Regions from separate parts of the Homo sapiens genome. Here all the other regions are linked to region 2. Evidence: promoter capture Hi-C in human tissues and cell types (Jung and others, 2019). All regions are on one chromosome and are shown on one strand. Each heading gives the region's core, a stretch centred on a gene start or on the middle of the fragment in contact. The rest is flanking DNA. Distances are from core to core; before and after follow the strand shown.

Region 1 (3,061 bases), core at 47-2,546, 430 kb after region 2:
GGGTTTTGCCTTGTTGGCCTGACTGGTCTCAAACTCCTGGACTCAAGTGATCCACCTGCCTCGGCCTCCCAAAGTACTGGGATTACAGGCAAAGCAAATAATGGAACAACAAAAGAACGAAGACAGGGATTTATTGAAAACAAAAGTACACTCCATAGTGGGGAAGCGAACCCACGCAGCAGCTCAAGGGCCCAGACACAGAATCTTCTGGGGTCCAAATACCCTCTAGAAGTTTCCCATTGGCCACTTTATGCTCTCTTGATGTAACTGAAGTGGTAGCCCACAATCAGTCTGAGTGGTTGCAGAAAGCAACCAATCAGAGGCCAGGGTGAAGTTAACAAAATTATACTTCTATGCAAAGGAAGACTCTCCCGCCATCAGTCTGATTGGTTGTGGACAGCAACCGTTCAGAGGCTGGAGTGAAGTTACAAAGTTGCAAACAAAGACTGGAAGGCGCTCAGTGTGATTTGTTGCAGACAGCCAATTTCCCATCTGCCATGCAGAAAAGGTCCAAGGGAACAGCCTCTGGTTCTTTTGTTACTTAGGCGTGGAAAGTTGGGGTTTTCCTTTCAATTTAGTTCTAAGAAGTCACGTGAAACAGCCATAGGTTCCCTGCCTCCAGACCCTATTCTCCTGCCTCATTTACTGCAGTCTTCTCTGCCTGCCTCTTTTAGCGACTAGCATGAGATGAGGATTCGTCTTCTAATATCCGTCACCAATCCTTCCCCTCTGTCATTTAGCGAACCACTCACTGGGCACTAGGACTTTGGGGAGAGTCCCAAGAGGCCCCTCTTCGTCCAGGGGCTACTTTTTTCTCTTCCAGCCTCCATCTCCTAACTCAAGGGGTACAGCTCAGATTATGTTTGGCGCCCAGGGACAGTGACAAACCCAGGGCCCGTGGATAGAGGAGGCATCTCACTACGCTGCACGAGGCCACCTCGCAGTAGGCAGCCCAGCCCTGCCCCAAAACCCAAGAGCCTAACCAGGAAGACAGGGGGAGGCCGCGGGCTTCATCTCCCAAGAGATGGACTACACCTCCCAGCAGGCTCTGCGCGCGGGCTGAGGATCCCTCCGCTCTTTTTCTGTCCCGCCGGCTGGGCCCCCCGCGACCAGCCAAGGGCCAAGGACAGGTCTTTCAGAATCTGAGGTACATCTTCTTATCACATTTCCGGGGAGGGACTGCTAGGAGCTCCGGAGGAAAAACGGACTTTTTTTGAGGAGAAAAGCGGAGGCAGACGGTGGATGACAACACGTCCCGCAGCTGCAGATTTTCGCGCGCTTTGGCGCAGGTGGTTGTGGGTAGCGCGCCTGGGAGGGAGAAAGAAGTCGGGGGCCGTGGCGCGCAGCCCGCGGGGCCTGAAGGGATGTTCGAGGACAAGCCCCACGCTGAGGGGGCGGCGGTGGTCGCCGCAGCCGGGGAGGCGCTACAGGCCCTGTGCCAGGAGCTGAACCTGGACGAGGGGAGCGCGGCCGAAGCCCTGGACGACTTTACTGCCATCCGAGGCAACTACAGCCTAGAGGTGAGCGGCAGCAGGTGGGGCGGCCGGACCCTACCCTCGCCAGGCCCCACCCCTGCCCCGCCCCTTCCTCGGCCTATGGGGTGGTGGGAGTTTCCCCACCTAGGAGGGTCGCTGCGCAGCCAAGCGCCGAGGGGCGGGAAAGGTGGGTGTAGCTCAGCCAATCCACCCATCATTTTGAGGCGGGAAACTGAAGCTCAGGAAAGGAGCGGCCTAGGTCCCGCGCCGCTCAGACCCCAGGCTTCCTGACCACACTTCCCTCTACCCCGCCAAGCGCCACAAAAGTCATGGTGCTGCCCTTAAATCAGTAAGAACAAATATAATGGTAAAGTGAAAATGAACTGCATGCCAAGACATCACTGCCCAGAGCTTTAAATGGACCCTCAGTTCCGTCTGAACCCCTTCTGTGATCCCCATTTCACGCAAGAGGAAGCGGAGCCCTAGACGGGTTAAGCTACAGGCCCAAGGTCACACGGTTAGAGATGGAGCCAGACCCAGGGTCTGAGCCGTTTAACCTCCACCCTCTGCTTCACCAGGGTGGAGCTGCCGGTCGCTGTGCAGCAGTTTGATCAAAGCCAATGTGCACACGAAGCTGATCTCAGCCCTACGTTTCCTCCTCCGTCAGAGCATCGTCCTGATGCTTTGCATCAGTGTCTGGCTCTGAATAAAACAAATGTCAGTTATAATTACTTGATTTTTTTCCCCATCATTCTTGCATTTTATCCTCGCAACAGCCCTGTGAACATGGCATGGCAATGAGTATTAGACTGCTTTCCAGGTGATAATGGCAAGGCTCAGAAGGTTGTCTTGCCTAGGATTATTCTAATATAGAAACCCAGGCTGGGCGTGGCGGCTCACGCCTATAATCCCAGCACTTTGGGAGGCCAAGGCGGGCGGATCACTTGAGGCCAGGAGTTCGAGACTAACCTGGGCAACACGGCGAAACCCCATCTCTACTAAAAAAATACAAAAACTAGCTGGGTGTGGTGGCGCCTGCCTGTAATCTAGCTACTCGGGAGGCTGAGGCAGGAGAATTGCTTAAACCCAGGAGGCATAGGCCGCAGTGAGTGGAGATCACACCACTGCACTCCAGCCTGGGTGACAGCAAGACTCTATCTAAAAACAGAGAAAGAAACCCAGACGAGCATAAGCCCAGTGTAGACAGAATTGTGATGGAGTGTATTTCATGTAGCACCACTGGCCTCATGTTCAAAGGCTTTCATGTGCCAAGGGCGCTGGACCCACTCCCAGGGTGCACCACTGACTCACCACCCAGTGAAATAATTGCTGGGTTCAAAGGCATAGAGTTGGAAAAGTGTCGATTGTATGTGTGCCTATATATGAAGGAGTAGTACCTGAAAAAAGTGTCTTCAGAACTGGATAGACTGGGTAAAGGACAATGGTCCACATCCGTGGGTGGCATGACTGGAGAGCTGTGGGAAGAATAAGAAAGTAAGGGAGATTAGAATGAATGGCGTCTCAATTGAAAACAGATTGATTTTTGAAAGCCTGAGAAAGCATTTCTGACATCCTAGGTCTGATTT
Region 2 (3,148 bases), core at 113-2,612:
TGGTGCTGCCGTGCCCACCCCCGCCCCACCCCCTGCCCCGCCCGCCCATCCAGCGTAGGCTGGAGAGGCGGGCGCGGGCGCAGCTTGTCCACGAGTCAGGGCAGCTGGAGCTTTTCCAACTGTGCTGAGAGCTGCATGGCGGCAAGCTGATTGGACCCACAACTTAGGTATACCTCACTTCTCGCAATGGGCTGTGTCCCTGGAGGATTTCGAAAAGCGAATCCTACCCAGTAAATGCAGCATTCCAGGAACACCTTGAAGGAAATATGCGATTCCTTTGGCAAAGGATTCCTTTAGCAGGGAATTCTTCCTGCAAAGGGAGCTTTTAGGGTAAATGATTTTATGGGCAAAGCGCTTTCTTCTGATTTATCTCTTTTTACACCAAGCGCTTTTGCCTCTTTTTTATTTTTTTTATTATTATTTTTTTTTTTGTAAAGCAATTGTCCTTTTTTGGAAGTGCTTTTTTTCCCCTTCTATTTTTCTCTCGAGGGGCTTTTTCCTCTAATTTTTTTCTTTAAAGCGTTTTTGCCCGATCCATTTTTTTCCGTTAGCTCCCTTGTCTAATTTTTTTCTGCAGTGCGTTTTTAATCTAATGCATTTTTTTCTGCCAAGTGCTTTTCTCCGATTTATTTTTCCTGCAATGCGCGTTTTTCTGTTTTCCTGTGAACTACTTTTTCTCTAATTCGTTGTAGGGTTTTTTTTTTTTGCGAAGTAATTTTTATTTTTTCTGAGAAGTGCCTTTTTCTAACTTATTTTTTGTTCCACCCCCGCAAGCGCTATATGTTTTTTTAAATAAAATTTCTCCGCAATGCGCAATTTTTTAAGGTGGAAAATTTTCACTCTGCGAGCTGTAAAGTCTTTCAACACAGTAGTGCCCCGCCTCCCTCCTGGGGTCGAGTCCGGGTGTAGCGGGTTTTTCTTACCGCGTAGGTCGCTAAATGCCTGGGTGATCGTCCGCAGCGGTCGCCCGCCGCGCCCCGAGTCTTTGTTCCCTGGCAGGCGCGGGCGCACTAGGGAGGGTCAGCGCGAGGAGGACGGCGCAGGGAATGGGCAGGGGGCGCGCGGTGCCGGCAGCGGCACTTGGGCAGGCAAGGATCGCGGCAATCGGAATAGGACGGGTCCGGGAAGCGGCAATCGCGACGCAGTCTTGCGGGTTCTAGGGGCGCGAGTTGGGAACCCTCTCCCACCCGAAACCCCGTCAGACTTACCTGCAGCAGCACGCGGAAGATGTACCAGCCGATGATGAGCAGTTCAGCCGAGGCCGCCGCCACTGCCGCCATGGTTCCAAGAATGGTAGGTGGGTGGTCGAGAAAGAGGGTTTGCCGAGATCCGCTGGTCTCGGAGTCCGCTGTTGGGCGCACTGCCGCAGCCGCGGTGGCCGCGCCTTAAGTACCCGCCCGCCACCTAAGTGCGCATGCGCGCCTTGGGGGGTGTTTATGAGGAGGGGTGGCTGGGGGCGCTCCTCATTCGCCAGGAGAGGAAAAAAATAATCCATCTGCTCTTTCCATACCGACCCCCGCCTCCTGAGTTCCATCTTAGCCCCCTTCCAGAAGATTCCGCCGTGCTTGCTTTTGGATTTTGCTTTAAAATGGAGGGGTACCACGACTCTGGGTAGAGTACAGGGCGAGAATGGGGGTGCAGGTCTCTTAGTGTGGCGCCCTTCTCCCCAGTCCCTGGCCTGCAAATTTGAGCTCAGTCTCCGGTGCCACTCCAAAGCCTACCTTGGGGATGGATGGAAAACCGAAATTAGGGAGGGGTCATCTGCCCCATAGAGCAAAAAACGTGGTGCCCCTTTCAGAAGCTTTGGCATAATAGGCCCGTGCTCGGCGCTCTTTTCCTGATACTGAATGAGTTTTAAGCCCAGGTCCTCTGCTTCATGAGGGTGCCTGAGCGCGTAACCCGTCTGATTCTTTACATCTCTCTTACGGTAGCGAGGAGATGAGAATCTGCGGTGGAGGTCGCTACTGTAGGGAGCTGAGCCAGAGCACTGCGCTTTGGGCGCAAAAGCAGTAGTCACCCGGTATCTGTAGGAGGGATACAGGAAGGATTGGCGCCCTTCGTATGCACGGAAGGAATGAGCTCTACGGAGAAGTGGTTGGAATATGCTTGGGGATAGTTTTCTGCTGGACAGGTCGTTTCGACCTCAGTCTTCCGCTCCCCTCCCCCAAGCCCTGGTAGGTCGGCCTTAGCCAGTGGGGTTCTTTGTACCCGTTGCGCTGTGCGGCTGGATCACCGAACGGGGTTACGCTACCGCTACCGGAGGGTTGTGGCTACCGCAGCCCCGTTTCCAAGTGAGGCGGGTCCCTTTTAGACCGCCAGTCTTGTGGGTCCCTCGCACAGCGCGGATTTTCGGGCGGGAAGACCGGAATGCGGTTTGTGAGTGTGGTCCCCGCGCACCGGTAGCCAGCCGAAAGCACCTCTTTCCAGCAAGCTGCCTGGCCCAGGGACCAACTGGCATTTGCCCCTATGTGGATAGAAAATTAATTTTCATTAAAAGCTCCCAGAGGTCAGGTTCTATACAGTGCCAGCAGCAGATGGAGGTGTAATGATCCAAACGAGTTCAGTTTGGACAAAGTAGCATAGTGACTTTTTTTCTACATTGACTTTCGGAGAAGTTGGCAGATTCTGGCAAAGTGACGCTGGGCTGTTTGAAAAAGGCAAGCTTAGCCTAGGCTGCCATCTTAAAATATTTCGAGGCTGTAGCTGCCTCAGGATCCTTTGCCTGTGGTCTGGTGGCCGGCAGTGCCCCGCTAACAGCTTTAACTCTGCACTTAGTGCCTGAGCACCTATGGCTGTGAGAGATGCTAGATACAGAACCCTGTCCTTACCACGTGGGGGCACAGCAGGGAGCCCTTGGTCGTCCTTTGGCAACCACTGGGCGGTATTGTGAGGTCTGGGCCCCTTGAGGACGGGCTGCAGCCCCAGGAGGCGATACATGATCTCTGCTGGGCAGGGCCCAGGCAAAGCCAGCCCACTGTGTGAAACCGTGCCAAAGAGCCCTCTCCCCGATCCCCCAGGAGAAGCCCCGGGGAGACATCCCAGGAAGCTTCCCGAATTAGTGACTTGGAGAGGAGTAGAACTTTCACGGGTGGGCAGGGAGGAAAGGGCATTTCACATTTGCTGTTGTTAACCATGATCCATTTTCCCA
Region 3 (3,342 bases), core at 254-2,753, 380 kb after region 2:
TAAGCTACACACAACCGTAGTTCCTCTGCCTCAGTCTGCGCTTCACATGGATGAGGAAGCTCCATGCTTCCCAAAGCAACTGTCCTGTCATTGGGCACAGTATGAGCAATCTCTACCAGGTATACAGCCAAAGAAATACGTTGATTATTGATTCAGCAAATAGTTATGAAGCATTTATTGTTCTAGTGATGCATCAGTAATCAAGACAAACAAGATACCTTCCCCCAGGGAACTTATTTTCTAGTTGGAGAGAAAGTATCCTCAGCCAAGGGCTCAAAGATAAATTTTCCATCTACGAATTTCCAGCAAATATTAGGTCACAATGAAACATGAGAAAAACAAGACACTACAAGGAGCATTGGCATACTTGACACATGATGAAGAGTTCTGATATCAGAATTATCATACACAGTATAGAGTTGGGCAATTTTTTCTGGGAACCTAAGCTTCATAGGGAGACCCCTCACAGTTCCTCACCAGTGGGGAAATAAGGTAGCATGCTTTGGTTGTACTCACAAATCACTCAAATGCTCTGGTCTTACAAAAAGCTCTTTGCTTTTGCTTTTTTCTTCTTCTTCTTCTTTTTAAAGACAGGGTTGGCTGGGCATGGTGGCTCATGCCTGTAATCCCAGCACTGGGGGAGGCTGAGGTGGGTGGATCACCTGAGGTCAGGAGTTCGAGGCCAGTCTGAACCAAAATGGAGAAACCCCATCTCTACTAAAAATACAAAATTAGCTGGGCATGGTGGCGCATGCCTGTAATCCCAGCTACTCAGGAGGCTGAGGCAGGAGAATCACCTCCAGGAGGCAGAGGTTGCGGTGAGCTGAGATCGCGCCATTGCACTCCAGCCTGGGTGATAAGAGTGAAACTCTGCCTCAAAAAAAAAATTTAAAAAAGAAAAGACAGGGTCTTAACTCTGTCACCCAGGCTGGAGTGCAGTGGCGTGATCTCGGTTCACTGCAAGCTCCACCTCTTGGGTTCAAGTGATCCTCCCACCTCAGCCTCCCAAGTAGTTGGGACTACAGGAGTGCGCCACCATGCTTGGCTAATTTTTTTATTTTTCGGTATCGCCATGTTGGCCAGGTTTGTCTCGAAATCTTGACTTCAAGTGATCCATCTGCCTCGACCTCCTCTTTGTTTTTTCTTTTGGTTCTTTTTATGTATTGTTCTAGAAGGAAAGAGAAATAAATCAGCCTTCAGATGAACAAACACTCCCTCCCCCAGGCATTTTTGTTCAAGTGAAAAAGAAGAGTGAGATCTTGGAATCCACTTTAAACTGAAGATCAACCAGACCTGTAAAATCAAGAAGAAAAAAAGAAGCCAGAAAGTATTAATATTTTATATTTTCTTTTCAGATATCACTCATGACAAGAAAGATCAGCAAAACTTGAAAAGAGCATTGACAAAATGTCGAGAATTCCTGGAGCTCCACAGCTCTGCCGCTAAATGCTTCTACAACTGTCCCTTCAGAATTGCCCAGGTAATAAGAATGGCTAAAATTATAACCACAGCCAGAAGTGTTGGCAAGGATGGGGAACAACCAGAAGTCTCCTGCCATTTATTCATGGAAACGTAAAACAGTAAAAACCACTTTGGAAAAAGTTCTGGTAGTTTCTTATAAAACAAAACCATACACAATTGCCCAGGAAACGTGGTCTCTAAACGTTCCGTAGTTTGGAGACAAGGCACCATGTTCCTGGCCCATATATGCCTTGCCTTCTTAGTTTGGGGGTTAAGGTCAACCTGCCATTGAGGCCAGTATCCCTGGACTTCACTTCATACCAGCTCTGCTCCTACTATTCATAATTGCGAGTCTCTTGCAAATGTAAATGCTGGTCACAAAAAGGAGCTGCAAGAGAGTATGGTTGATCCAACAAGCCAGACTTTTTAAATTAATGTAGTTATTCATTATTCAATAAATACTTATACATCTGCCAGGTACCAGGTATGCTAGGGAATAGGGGAAAATAAAGAAAACCCACAGATCTTACTCATGTAGGGTGAAAGGTACCAAGTAATTTCATCTCTCTGCACATCAGTTTTCTCATCTGTGCGATGGAGATCTGTAAAAATTGGGACAGTTTTTACAATTTCTTTTTTACAATTTATACTGTTTACAATTCAGTCGTTGTTAAAGGAGATACCGTATGGAAAATGCTTTGCTAAATGCTTGTCACATAGTAAGTGCCCAGTAGATTGTACCTATTATAATCATGTGAAGGACTTTACTACCAAATGCAATGAGAAACAGAATGACACATTCTTTTAGTATGTTGTCTCCTGACAAGGCATTTTAATTATGCCTGGGAACCTGTCAGCTGTGTAACATTAGGGCCTTTTTTTAAGTCCTATCGTATAAAAGTATGACTCTTTCTGAAGATCTCATAATAAAGCTTCTTTCTTTTTCTTTTCTTTCCTTTTCTTTTTGTTTTGTTTTGTTTTGTTTTGTTTTGTTTTGTTTGGGGGGGCTGTTTCTTTGAGACAGAGTTTCGCTCTTGTTGCCCAGGCTGGAATGCAATGGCGCAATCTTGGCTCACTGCAACCTCCGCCTCCTGGGTTCAAGCAATTCTCCTGCCTCAGCCTCTTGAGTAGCTGGGATTATAGGCATGTGCCACTACACCCGGCTAATTTTGTATTTTTAGTAGAGATGGGGTTTCTCCATGTTGGTCAGGCTGATTTTGAACTCTGACCTCAGGTGATCCACCTGCCTTGGCCTCCCAACCAAAGTGGTGGGATTATAGACATGAGCCACATGCCAGGCTTCTTTTTTTTTTTTTTTTTTTTTTTTTTTTGAGACGGAGTCTTGCTCTGTCGCCCAGGCTGGAGTGTAGTGGCACGATCTCGTCTCACCGCAACCTCCGCCTCCCAGATTCAAGCAATTCTCCTCCCGCAGCCTCCCAGGTAGCTGGGATTACAGGCAAGCACCACCACGCCCAGCTAATTTTTGTATTTTTAGTAGAGACAGTGTTTCTCCATGTTGGCCAAGTGGCTAGTCTCAAGTCGTGGGCTCAAGTATTTCTCCCGCTTTAGGGTCCCAAACAACTGGTATTACAGGCATGAGCCACTGCACCTGGTCAATAAAGCTTCTTTCTAAATGTAAGAGCAGCAGGCTGGATGCAGTGGCTCACCCCTGTCATCCCAGCACTTTGGTTGGCTGAGGCGGAAGGATCACTTGAGCCTAGGATTCGAGACCATCCTGGGCAACATAGCGAGACCTCATCTCCACAAATAAAAAAATTAGCTGGCTGTGGTGGTGCACGCCTGTAGTCCTAGCTACTCAGGAAGCTGAAGTGGGAGGATGACTTCAGCCTGGGAGGTCCAGGCTGCAGTGAGCTGTGATCG
Region 4 (3,014 bases), core at 18-2,517, 490 kb before region 2:
AGGGACAGTGCACTGCCCTGTAGCTAATGCCATTTCCAGTGTTTGTTTATTCATGCATGAGCATTCACGTTCAGCATAAATGTTCCTTTTTCATTCATTCATTCAAGAGTGCCTGCCATATGTCAGACACTGTGCTAAGTAATGAAGATAGAGCAGAGAAAAAGACGAATAAACTCATGGAACTTCCCTGCCACTGCAAGAGAGATGATAAACAAGTAAACAAATCATTAGACAAGCTCACGGCAGATTCTGATAAACACCGTGAAGGAAATAAACACCTCAGTGTAACAGACACAGGCTCCTATAAGTTCAGTGGTCAGGGAGGGCCTCTCTGAGGAAGCAACACTAAAGCCAAAACCTGAAGGATGAGAAAGGCCCATCAACACATAGGGGGCTATCACATTTATTTTTAAGAACATTCAGGCCGGGTGCCGTGGCTCACACCTGTAATCTCAACACTTTGGGAGGCTGAGGTGGGCGGATTGCTTGAGCCCAGGAGTTCAAGACCAGCCTGGGCAACCTAGTATGGCCTCGTCTCTACTAAAAATGGAAAAAAATTAGTTGGGAGTGGCGGTACATGCCTGTAATTCCAGCTACTTGGGAGGTAGAAGCATCACCTAAGCCCAGGGAGGTCAGGGCTGCAGTGAGCCATGATTGCACCACTGCACTCCAGCCTGGGTGACAGAGGAAGACTGTCTCAAAAAAAAAAATAAATAAATAAAAATTCAGGTGGGAAGGCCCAGAAGGAAGAAGGGGCATGGGTCTTTGGAGAATGGAAAAGAGGCCTTTGTAGAGAGTGTTGCAAGATGAAGTTGGAAAGAAGGGCAAGGACAAATCCTGGTAGGGCCTTGAGGAGCAAGAGAAGGAGTTTGGATTTTATTTTGCAGCTACTTGGAAGCCTGTGTAGTGGGCTAGTCACTGGGGAGTCAGCCATGAATAAGACCCACTTAGGCCTGCCCTCGTGGAGCCCCTCATAGGACTGACTGGTTGCTTATGCAGACTAAGACTGGCTTCCATGGGCCAAATATATCCCACCTGTACTGCTTTAGCGACCTATGCTATGTTTCAATTTGAAATTTTTAAAATGTAGGTTAAGAAAAGCCCTGTGAAATATATCTCTCAAGAGGTATCTGAATTTGGGCCTTCAAAATTGAATTGTCTTAGATTGCTGATGTCTTCGGTCATCTCTGAAGGAGGAGTGTCAAGACTCCTGTGTAGCTTTGTAGTGCTTTTAAAAAAAAAAAAATGAGGTGGAGGGAGAGGGTCTCCCTTGCAGAAAGGAAAATTGAATGGTTAAGACTGACTCTGGGGCTTCCTTGGAACAGAAGCAAACTTAGAGCTAGCTTTTATGAAAGTTTTGAAATAACCCAGAATACACTCACTTTTTGAACAGGAAGTAGTACTCAGGTGGAGTTGGTATAGTCACTCATAAATCAGAGTAGTACCTTTTGCTGTCATTTCTGTTTGTCATAGAATTATCTAACTGACGTCCACTCTTTTAAGATGGGTGTGGAAATGTGTTCTCAGAGAACTTCTGAAAGGCCTTAGAAGAACCCAGTAAGAGCTTTAGGAAATTGAGTTATCATTAACATAGTGTGTCACATGCAGTGACTAAAAAAGCATTAGGTGCCACGGTAAGGGCAAGAAGCATCAGTTAATTACTGCTTAATCCCAACTGCTGGTTAGCTGATTATTCATAACAAGAAAAAAATAGGGTAGCTTTGAAAATAAGTATTTATGTCACATACTTCACAACTTGGAGAATGTGCTGCTGCATTCTTTTTATGGCTGCATAGTATTCCATCACGCGTCTGCACCATAGTGTATTTAACCAGTCCTTTCTTGGTAGACATTTTGGTCATTTCCAGTCTTTGGCCACCACAAAAAATGCTGCATTGAATATCTTTGTAGGTCATTTTGGACATGTCTCAGTATATTAATAGGATGAATTTCTGAAAAAAATGCTGGTTTAAAGGGTATTACGTTTAAATTTTTGAGAGAGTATCAAATTGCTCTCTAAGAGGTTGTACCAATTTAAACTCCATCAGCAATGTACGAGAGTGCCAGTTTTGCCACGCCATCACCCACACTGTGTATTACCAAGCTTTTGATCTTTGCTAATCCAATAGGAGAAAAATAGCACCTTATTATAGTTTTAATTTGCATTAAACGTGAGATTGAGCTTCTTTTCATATGTTTAAAAGCCATTTGTGAGCAAAGACATTTTAATGTCTGTCACCAGCCTTGAATCTAGAAATAATCTTTGCAGCATATCTAGTCTTAGCAGTGTAAATGCTGGGTCCAGGTTTTAACTATTTGGGAACCAGTGCCTTAGAGTGCACTAAGTAGCTGATAGACAACTGGGGATGCAGTTTGAAGAATGTCATAATGGATCCCTGGGTGTAGGAACCTCCGGCTCACACCTCACACATTTGCTCTCTGATACTGCCAGTTGCCTGGCCCTGTCATCTCCCATCTGCTGCTGCTCTTGCTCTGTGCAGATGCTCTTTGATGAAAAGGAGATTAGCAGGTGCTAAAGGTTATCAGAGTTTTTTTCCCAGCTGTCTGCAAAAGGAGGGCACTGGACCAGAGCAGTGATTTTCAGGCTGTGGGATTTGTTGTTGTTGTTGTTTTATTCTTTAAGTATTAAGAGCCTTTTTTGAAATGAAGCCTTTGGGGAACCCTGATATACAAAAATAATTGAAATTAGAGCTGAGTTGTTTGAAGGAATAGAGACCCTGGAACCCATGCCTGTAGCCCACCGTCTCTTGGTGCCCTCCCTGTTGTGATCCATGAGACATTTCTGTGAAGCCCTAAGGCTCCTCAAGGCACAGTTTGAAAACCACGGGACCCAGTGATGTTAGAAGTTTATTCTGTGGTGACTTACCAGAGGTATTTGAGCACCACCGAATAGGGAAGACTTTGGAGAGAAAATGGCCAGCTTTCTGAAGCATTTTATGTGAGAAATACAAGGTGAGACCATCCATTCTCAAGACTCTGTAAAGCCTGTATTC

Evidence for each region. The method cuts DNA at HindIII sites, captures the fragments that hold promoters and counts their contacts. A contact is called where the count stands out against the background at its distance.
Region 1: a contact is called between the fragment with the promoter of RBL1 here and the fragment with the promoter of NNAT in region 2, in 1 of the 25 tissues and cell types used here (lymphoblastoid cells).
Region 3: a contact is called between a fragment that was not itself captured here and the fragment with the promoter of NNAT in region 2, in 5 of the 25 tissues and cell types used here (H1 embryonic stem cells, bladder, dorsolateral prefrontal cortex and 2 more).
Region 4: a contact is called between a fragment that was not itself captured here and the fragment with the promoter of NNAT in region 2, in 1 of the 25 tissues and cell types used here (dorsolateral prefrontal cortex).

The regions. Positions count from the first base shown.
Region 1 is chr20:37,094,232-37,097,292 of GRCh38, reverse strand. RBL1 (RB transcriptional corepressor like 1) reads left to right here and starts at 1,296. Exons shown (of 22, transcript NM_002895.5): 1 at 1,296-1,520. The coding sequence starts at 1,365. RefSeq lists enhancers at 838-887, 1,008-1,277, 928-1,604, 1,838-1,937 and a silencer at 1,508-1,567. The HindIII fragment of the contact is 15,633 bases long and covers 1-3,061 here.
Region 2 is chr20:37,519,464-37,522,611 of GRCh38, reverse strand. NNAT (neuronatin) reads right to left here and starts at 1,362. Exons shown (of 3, transcript NM_005386.4): 1 at 1,209-1,362; 2 at 174-254. The coding sequence starts at 1,280. The region is part of intron 1 of BLCAP (BLCAP apoptosis inducing factor); the gene reads left to right. RefSeq lists an enhancer at 2,290-3,148. The HindIII fragment of the contact is 18,819 bases long and covers 1-2,232 here.
Region 3 is chr20:37,141,855-37,145,196 of GRCh38, reverse strand. It overlaps MROH8 (maestro heat like repeat family member 8), which reads left to right. Exons shown (of 25, transcript NM_152503.8): 11 at 1,356-1,480. Among named protein-coding and RNA genes, the nearest start is that of RPN2, 36 kb to the left of the region's middle. The HindIII fragment of the contact is 5,272 bases long and covers 1-3,342 here.
Region 4 is chr20:38,007,211-38,010,224 of GRCh38, reverse strand. The region is part of intron 2 of TTI1 (TELO2 interacting protein 1); the gene reads left to right. Among named protein-coding and RNA genes, the nearest start is that of TTI1, 25 kb to the left of the region's middle. The HindIII fragment of the contact is 4,274 bases long and covers 1-3,014 here.